2 separate regions of the Homo sapiens genome follow, and region 2 is linked to region 1. The links are contacts of gene promoters, found by promoter capture Hi-C in blood cells and fetal thymus (Javierre and others, 2016). All regions are on one chromosome and are shown on one strand. Each heading gives the region's core, a stretch centred on a gene start or on the middle of the fragment in contact. The rest is flanking DNA. Distances are from core to core; before and after follow the strand shown. Region 1 holds the start of C5orf58 (chromosome 5 open reading frame 58). Region 2 has its middle 49 kb from the start of KCNIP1.

Evidence for each region. Contacts are between HindIII fragments. The CHiCAGO score rates a contact against its expected background, and 5 or more counts as called.
Region 2: a fragment that was not itself captured here is called in contact with the fragment with the promoter of C5orf58 in region 1 in 1 of 17 cell types (activated CD4 T cells); the score reaches 6.3 in activated CD4 T cells.

The regions. Positions count from the first base shown.
Region 1 is chr5:170,231,608-170,236,316 of GRCh38, reverse strand. C5orf58 (chromosome 5 open reading frame 58) reads right to left here and starts at 3,332. Exons shown (of 4, transcript NM_001102609.3): 1 at 3,310-3,332; 2 at 2,119-2,202; 3 at 1,247-1,340. The coding sequence starts at 1,340. The HindIII fragment of the contact is 4,262 bases long and covers 1,028-4,709 here.
Region 2 is chr5:170,452,584-170,457,518 of GRCh38, reverse strand. It overlaps a transcript of KCNIP1 not described here. Among named protein-coding and RNA genes, the nearest start is that of KCNIP1, 49 kb to the left of the region's middle. The HindIII fragment of the contact is 1,433 bases long and covers 1,950-3,382 here.

The DNA.
Region 1 (4,709 bases), core at 2,083-4,582:
GATCAAAGTCCAGGAAATGCTGTCCTAGGGAGAACACATGGAAAAAGCATATTAGGCACTCATTATTTGGTGCCTAACGAACGGCCATGCCCTCTTCTTCTTGGAGTCACAGCTTGATTTTGTTTGAGGTGTTCCTTTCCCCAGCTCCTGTAGTAAGTTCTGAGTGGTCCAAACTGGTCTTGGCAGTCCCAGTCCCCTTAGCTGTGGCTGCTGTAAGCATCAGCATGTGATGCAAATCTGGCCAATGAAAGGGAACTGTGCTGGAGGGATCTGGGAGGAGACTTATAAAAAGAGACTGTCTATATATGAGCACCTCTGAAGGTAATGATCATGAGGGGTAATAAAGAGAGTGAACATGACAGAGCAGAAAGATGGAAAGAGCCTGGTCCCTGACAAAATCTTTAAACCTCTGAATTAACTTTAGGGCTCTGCTACCTTGGATCTTCTTGTTTTTCCTTATTGTATAAGTTAAGTTGGTTTTTTTGTTACTTATAGATGTAGGCCTCATAACTGACACAGGTTATCTTTAAATACCCAAGAGTTGTTTTAAAAAGAATAACTACATATTCAGTGTAGTTTTCATGGTTAGAAATAGGACTCTTAGGTGAAAGCAATAGGGGAACAGATTTCAGCTAGCTGGTGAGAAGGAATTGTTTAAAATAGAATGGATTGACTAGTGAGACAGGAAGTTCCCCAGCATAAGAAATGTTTGGTCAGGGATAGATTATCCCTAGAAATATTCAATCACAGAAATTTTCTTGGGATAAAATAACTGAATATGTCTGTGAGGTGAGCGACTAAACATCATGACCTATAAGGTCTAATCCTACTATATGAATCTGTTTAAAATGAAGAAGCTTTAAGTCACAGAATCTAATTTATACTTTTTAATTTGGAATGGACCTTAGGGGCTTAGTAAGAATTTATAAAGACAATGAATTTTGCTGAATGTGACATAGTCTTGAATGGTGTGTTGAAGGGAAGGAAGGGAAGTAAAATTTACAGAGGTTAGACAACCTGATAAGCTTATTAATGTCAGGGATGGGAATTCAGGTCTGCTAACTCCAAAGTCGAACATAATTCATCTTTAGAGATCTAGTTCACTTACACTGAAAACATTTGTTAAGAAATAGAGAAATCCTAATTAGTGGGCAAAATTTACTTATACCCCAGCAGAAACACAAACTGGCTCTATCATTTATTTTATAACAATGACATGCAAACATTTTAGTGATTCAATACTTACCTTTTATCTTCTTCAACTCCGAAGAAATTGTGTTAATATTTTTAATTACTTTGTCCACATTTAGCTTATGATCAGTAACACGCTTCTTACCCATCTGATTTTAAAAGAAAAACAGAAACAATGTATAAATCAGTATTTATGTGTACTTTTAAAATACTTACATTTTCAGTATTTCTATAAATCTGTTATTTCAGAAATAATTATGAAACAAATCTTTATAAATGGTTAGAATTCTAACATCAAAAGGCATTAATGTGTTATGTAATATTTTTCCAACTAAAAACTCCAACTGGAATTTGTAGGATGAGGTTCCTTCCTCAATCAAACCATATCCACAAGATAGGGCTTACAATGGAAATGAAGATGTCCCCTTTTCAGAAAGCCTCAGCCCTTATAAACTACCTTACAATTTAGCGTTTGTGTTAAGATCTTCTCTAATTTTGTTTATGTAAGTCCATGTCTTTTTCTAACTTATTCTTGAATAACAGGGCCCACATATGATTTAAGTACACAGTGAAACTCAAAAAAGAATTTTATTCTAATTCATTAAGAGGATAATTCAATTATAATCCACTAAGAGTATGGCAAATGGCTGGTTTGGTTTTGGGAGTTAGAGTAACAGACATTTTAATTTTGGTTAACTGAAATGTATAAATCAACGCATTCCTATGTTATACAGTACCTGTATTTAACCAATTGTGTCAGATACAAATATACAGAGAGGTGGTTCACTAGAAACTAGTCTTAAGCTGTTCAGTCTCTCAAAATGACTTGAAAAACTCCATCTCAATTAGCATACACAACTCCAGCAGTGTGAAAGGTGGGCAGTCATGGGTCAAGCTGCTTGTCCAAAATAATGAAAACAAACTAACCTTTAAGTCAATCCTTGCCTCTACCTTTTCCTGAGCAGGGAGAATTTCTGCAATTTCTCTCATTTCAGAGCCACTGTAAAAAAACTAATTTTGTTTCCCAGACATTAATAAAATGCGCTTTGCATCTACCCCCAAGACCCCATTCTCCAGGATGTCAGCTGCCTTCCTTGGGCATGCCAAACCAAGAGTCAAGTTGCAGGGAAAAAGAAAGATGATATTTTAACAAGGGGTGGAGTGGTGGAATTAAAGAACTTCAAAAACAAGGCAAAAGTTTTTTAAAAATAGTAAAGTAGAAACTAAATGATTTTAGAGCCCAAGACAGTGGCCTCTCTCCACTCTGGTTCTCCTAGGCCCTCGAGCACCCAGCGCGTGGGTGGGGTGAGGGCACAGTGGGGTGCTACACAACAATGTAGCTGGGACTGGACTGGAGGCAGGACAGGTCTGGGTCAAGCCCTCCCCGGGGAGCTCGGCCAGGCCACTACCCAGAAAGGAGAGGCTGCTCCAACAGCAATTCACCGGGAGTGGGGAAGCGGAGACCAGACTGTAGGGGCCATAGGAATGGGGGGTCAGAAGCCAGGATGTCGCTGACTCAAGGCCTGATACCACTAGAGCGCCATCTCCGGGCCACAGGACGCCGCCCAGGCCCTCAGCCCGCAGCCCTGCAGAGCCATCGTTAGCACCGCAGGTTCTACTCTGAAAGCCCAGCCTCCTCCTTGGCCCAACTGACACCTGGGAGGAGCCCCAGATCTTTAGGGCCCTCAGCGACCCAACTGCCCATGAAGACCCCCCAGATCTTTGGGGCCATGAGCGGCCCAACCACCCGCTCAACAGCTAAAGATGGAGCCTGAGGCATCTGGAAGTTTCCACAGTCCTCGCCCTCCCAGACAGGATTTGGAATGAACCTTTGGGGCTTACTAAGTTTCTTGCCAAGTGGACAGGATTAGGGTAATGTAAAATGCCCTCAGAGTGACCCCGGCCTACGGACAGCCACCAGCCGCCAGGCCCACCCAGCCAACCGTCCCCTTCTCGGCCCAACCGACACCCAGGGAGAGGCTCCGAGGCCAGCCCGGCCCACCGCCCACCCGTTGGGTGGTGGAAGGTGGAGCCTCGGGCAGCCTGGAAATTTCAGCGGTCTTCACCCTCCCAAACCAGATTAGGATCCTTCAAGACCGAGCAGCCGTCACTACCCACCTGGCCAACCGTCACCGAGGTTCTGACAGGAGCAGGGAGCCGACGGTGAAGGCGAAGCCGCGCCCCCTGATTGGCCAGCTTCTCCGCCTGCGGCATCCTGGGAGTTGTAGTCCCAGGCAAGGCCCCTACGGAGAAGGTTCTGGATGCCGGGTTACAACTGACTCGCGCGGCCACGTTGGCGGAAAAAGCACTGACATTCCTTACCCCCAGTGTGCCAGGCTTTTGCAACCCTTATCTGCATTTGAGTCGCACAGGATAGCGGTAGCGTTAAGTGCAGACTCTGGAATGAAGCCACTTGGGTTTGAATCCTATTCTATCACCTGCTTAGTTGTATAGATGCAGATAAGCGATTAACTATTCAGAGTGCAGATGTCCTCACCTATCGTATGGAACGATAATAACTGCCTTCCAGTGTTAGTTTGAGGGTTAAGTGAGATAATTCATCAGAGGTGCTTGGCAGATACCAAGTGCTCCATAACTGTTAGCTATTATTTTTCCTATAACATTTTATAGGAATGATAATAGTAAAGAGTAGCATGAATAAAGAGATGAGTTGAGACATGGAAAATGGTTTTTTGCCAAGCTGAGAAGCTGGGATTCGAGCCGTCTTTTGCTTGACTCCAGAGGAATCTCTGCCACTGCAACCTTTGAGGCAGGCCCAAAGATTTTTCTTGGTGCCCTGAGAAATTGAGGAGTTTAGGCTTTCAGCACAAGGTGCTATACAACAAGTCTTTGCGTCTATGCCTCCCCTATAGTACACACCAGCCTCTTGAACCATCACCTTCCTGAAAGCCCACATCACAATTGTTGGGTATTTTATATCCAATTTCCTTCACTTTAACACTGCAGAATTTGTTGTCGAATGCAATTACCTAGATGAGGAGGGACAGAGGAGAACAGAGCTTAATGATAACCAGCTGTATGATCTTAGAAAAGAATATCTTCCTTATTCTGAGTCTCTGTTTCCTTATCTGTTTTCTATTGAGAGGGATGGGCTAAACCAGTAGTTCCTAAATTGTACTAATTGCTGGGCCACTGTTAAGATTCTGTGCTTATGGCACTCATATTATTATTATCTTCTCCTAAACACCTTATTGTCTCCTGTGGTTAACTACAGGGAGTTTCTAAAGGTGAAGAAGTTTTTAATGATAACCAGCTTTGTAAAATACGAAGCTATATTATTGCCTTCATATTTTAAATCTACTTATTTTTAAAATTTAAGTCTACTTAAAAATCTTTATATCACCAGTGTTAAATAGAATAAAACGTAAAGTCAGGCCAGGCACGGTGGCTCGCCTGTAATCCCAGCACTTTGGGAGGCTGAGGTGGGTGAATCACGAGGTCAGGAGTTCGAGACCAGCCTGGCCAACATGGTGAAACCTCGTCTCTACTAAAAATAC
Region 2 (4,935 bases), core at 1,417-3,916, 220 kb before region 1:
TCCTGTGATGCAAACCATCTGTGGGTTTCTCAGCCACAGATACCAGCACAGTATTTGAGGTGTCTCCCAGGTCCTGCAGGAGCAATCCACTTCCTTCAGAGGGTCTGTGGGTTCTCTTGGCTCTCCTAATTTATTCCTGCAGTCGTTATGCCCCTCCAGGGCCTCTCCGTACTCTTCCTGACATGTGGTGGTGGTGGTGGTGGCCCCTGCAGTTTTGCTGCCCTGTCTTCAGCTCTCAGTTTAATAATCTTTTTTAAATACCTATTTAGATTTTCTATTTCTACTTGAGTCAGTTTTTGTAGTTTGTGTCTTTCTAAGAATTTGTCCATTTCATTTGTAATTTAATTTGTTGGCATATCAATTGGCTTGTTGTATTCCTCTATACTTTTTGTATCTATGAGGTTGGTAGTAATGTTCTCTCATTCTTTCCTGATTATGGTAATTTAAGTATTCTTTTTTTCTTGGTCAGTTTAGCTAAAAGCTTGTCACTTTTGCTCATCTTTTGAAATAACCAGCTGGGTGTGGTGGCTCAGCATTTTGAGAGGCTGAGGCAGGAGGATCGCTTGAGCCTAGGAATTTGAGACCAGCCTGGGCAACATAGGGAAACCTCATCTCTACAAAAAATTGAAAACATTAGCTGGACATGGTGGTGCACTCCTGTGGTTCCAGCTACTCGAGAGTCTGAGGTAGGAGGATCACTTAAGTCCAGGAGATCGAGGCTGCAGTGAGCTGTGATTGCACCACTGCACTCCAGCCTGAGTGACAGAGCTAGACCTTGTCTCAAAAGAAACAAGAAAGAAAGAAAGAAAGAAAGAAAAAGAGAGAGAGAGAGAAAGAAAGAAAGAGAAAGAAAGAAAACAAGAACCACTTTTTGGTTTCAGTGATATTCTCTATTGTTTTTCTGTCCTCAATTTCATTAATTTCCACTTTCATTATTGTCTTCCTTCTGCTTGCTTTAGGATTAGTTTGCTGCTTTTCCCCTAGCGTCTTAAGATAGAAGTCTAGCTTATTGATATGAGATGTTTTTTCTTTTTTTAAAAAAATTTTACTCTAAGTTTGGGGATACATGTGCAGAATGTGCAGGTTTGTTACACAGGTATACATGTGCCATGGTGGTTTGCTGCACCTATCAACCTGTCATCTAGGTTTTAAACCCCATATGCATGAGGTATTTGTCCTAATGCTCTCCCTCCACTTGCCCCCCACCCTCCGACAGGCCCCGGTGTGTGATGTTCCCCTCCCTGTGTCCATGTGTACTCATTGTTCAACTCCCACTTATGAGTGAGAATATGTGGTGTTTGTTTATCTGTTCCTGTGTCAGTTTGCTGAGAATGATGGCTTCCAGCTTCATCTATGTCCCTGCAAAGGACATAAACTCATTCTTTTTTATGGCTGCATAGTATTCCATGGTGTATATGTGCCACATTTTCTTTGTCCAGTCTATCATTGATGGGCATTTGGGTTGGTTCCAAGTCTTTGCCATTGGAAATAGTGCCTCAATAAATATATGTATGCATGTGTCTTTATAGTAGAATGATTTATAATCCTTTGGGTGTATACCCAGTAATGGGATTGCTGGGTCAAATGGTATTTCTGGTTCTAGATCCTTGAGGAATCGCCATATTGTCTTCCACAGTGGTTGAACTAATTTACAGTCCCACCAACAGTGTAACTTTCTCCATTTTTAATGTAGGTATGTGGAGCTATAAATTTCCCTCTAAGCATTGCTTTAGCTATATTGCATAAATTTTTATATGTTGTGTCTTAATTTTCATTCATCTCAAAGTATTTTCTCATTTATTTTGTGATTTCTTCTTCAACCAATTGGTTACTTATGGGTATGTTAATTTCTATATAGTTGTGAGTTTCCAAAAGTTCTTTCTAATTTTATTCTTTGTGGCCAAGGAACAGATTGTGTATAATTTCAGTCCTTTTAAATTATCGAAGCTTGTTTTGTGGCCTAGCATATGGTCTATTCTACAGAATGTTTGATGTGTACTTAAGAAGAATATGTGGGCCAGGCATGTGGCTTGTGCCTATAATCCCAGCACTTTGGGAAGCTGAGGCCCATGTATCACCTGAGCCTGGGAAGTTGAGGCTGCAGTGAGCCATGATCACACCACTGCACTCTAGCCTGGGCAACAGAGTAAGATCCTGTTGAAGAAGAAGAAGAAGGAGAAGGAGAAAGAGAAGAAGGAAGAAGAAGAAGGGGAAGGGGAAGGGGAAGGGGAGGAGGAGGAGAAGTAGGAGGAGGAAGACTTCTGTTGTTGGGTGGATTATTCTATAGATATCCATTAGGCCTAGTTGGTGTATAGCTTTGTTAAAATATTCTATTTTCTTGTTGATCTTATGTCTAGTTGTTCTATCCATTATTGAAAGTGAGGTATTGAAGTTTCTAAATATTGCTGAGCTGCCTATTTATTTATCCCTTCAACTTTGTCAGTTTTTGTTTTATGTATTTTGAGATTCTATTTTTAGGAGCATATTTGTTTATAATTGTGGTATCTTCCTGATATTTTGATACTTTTATTATTATAAAATGTCCCTTTCTATCTGTATTAACATTTTTGTTTTAAAATCCATTTTGTCTAACATTGAAATAGCTACTCCAGGTTTATCTCTTCTTTTTTTAAGAACAATATTTTTTTAACCTTCATTGAACTTTGTAGTGAGGGTAAAAGTAATAGAAACATCAAATGAATACACAGACTAGATAATCTGTAAAAATAACTAGTTCTTTATGTTTACACAGAAGTCTGTCACACAGATTTCAGAATTACATAGCTTAAAGAGTTCTAATTATATAAAAACATTCTTAATTCTGAAATATTTCCAACTTCCTACTCATTTTTCTTAGAAATCTACAGGCAACATTTCATAGTTTTACCAGGTAAAGTTTAATGTCTTTTCATATGATCATCAGGAAGTTTTCTAAACTTCTCACCTGCATTCTTAATTCTTAGTCTGTGTAAGACAGAGTACAAAAACCAGTTCTCCTGGGCATCAGGTATCTCCTGACTTATAAGTAAGGGTCTCTGGCAGGATGCAAACATTTTAGGTCAAGGCCACTTCTTGGAATTTGTTTCAGGTTTAGGTACACTCCTCTAGTCCTTCATTACATTTAATGCCAATCTCTTTGTTTCACATTGCTCATTATCACTTGGAAGAAGCTACCTGTATGCATACCAAAATTTAATTTGTCCCTTCCTCCCACCTTTTGTGAGTTAATTATACTCACTTCTTCGAGTCAACCATGAAAACAAATGCACTTCTTGAGGATTTTAAAGAAATTTGGGTGTGTTGAGAAAGAAAAGACCTTCTAAAACTGCAGGACGTTTTCCTCTTTTTGCAAAGCATGAATTATTCTTCTAGGAATAAAGCTTGCTTTCCTGTGAATGGATTGAAATCTGGAGCTAGCTAACCTTCTTGAGCAGCTGTAATAGTTTTCTAAACTGTGTAACAACTAACATACCTTTATGATGTGACAGTTTCTGTGGGTCAGAAGAATGGACACGGTTCAGCTGTGTCCTTTTCCCCAGGTCTCACAAGACTGCAATCAAGGTGTTGGCTGGTCTGTATTTTACTTGTCAGGCTCAACTTGGGGAGAATCTAGTTCCAGCCTTACTCAGGATGTTGGCAGAATTCATTTCCTGTATGTGTAGAACCAAGGACGTCTGTTTCTTGCTGGGTGTTTGCTGGATGCCAGTCTCAGCACCTGGGCTTCCCACAGCTCCTTGCCACGTGGAAGTCTTCATCATGGTTACATACTTTGTCAAGTCAGCAAGGAGAATCTCTAGCATGAATCTTCCATCATAAAGGAGCCACATGATGTAATGTAATCACAGGAGTAACGTCCCACCACCTCCGCCATATTCCACTGGTTAGAAGCAAGTCACAGATCTCATCTACCTTCAAGTGGAGGTTATTACATAAAGGTGTAAATACCAGAAGGCAGAGCTGATTGGCAATTAATTTAGGGTCTGTCCACTAGTCGTGTTGGAGTACTCCTTAAAAGATATGCCCCAAAGTTACTTTCAGATTTTCTAAAAAGGAAACTGGAACCAGGAATGTGGTACCCCGCTAAATGATGCCTGGAAGTGCACCTGTTTTCTTTGGTGGTATGGTGGCTGCAATATGTGAAAACTGCCTTTCCCCATCCTTCAGCACTAAGCCAGCACATTGGAAGATGTGACAAAGACCATTACATTGAAATAGAGGCCACTTCTCTAATAAGGCAACTTTCCTTTAAAGTTAAATTGAGAAACTAAGTGACTGGATGATATCCTTTTAATGGCTGCTGAGCGTAAATGCATTTTGAGAGCAAATGCTCCTTCAGGAATGATCATTTCTAATGTTCTTTCAAGTCGTCAATTTGGAGGGTGAAGAGGAATGTGATTAGAAGACCAAACTAACAAAGAATTTTGAGACCAGCAAAAATGTTGACTGCACGGACGTATAATTTAAACTGCCAAAGTGCTAGCACATTTTTCATGCAAAATATACTTAATCAGTAATAATCCTGTTCCTCAAGAAGGCTTCTAATATGTTTTATTGCCTTTTTAGATTTTTCCCCCTTCATTTTCTAAAATATAATCATAGTTCAGCAACTCCATCTGTGAACGATCCAGCGATGAATTCTGGGTGGTAATGATGTACAACGAGTGAATAACAATTCCTTAATCACGCTGTTTCCTCTGTTGTCGCCTCATTTGAATTCCTGGTTTTCAGAAAATTCAATTATAGTTGCAATTTCATCAAGAAATTACTCAGACAAATAACTGACAGAGAGTAACAGTTCGCTTCTTTGTCAGGATAAAGGCAGAGGGAGCAGGGTGGGGAGAGAAGTGGCAAAAGACAGATTTGATTAAAAGTGTCGTAAAGAAGTTTTGCTTTCCTGAGAGGCAAAGGAGAAGGGTGACAATTTTACAGCCATGG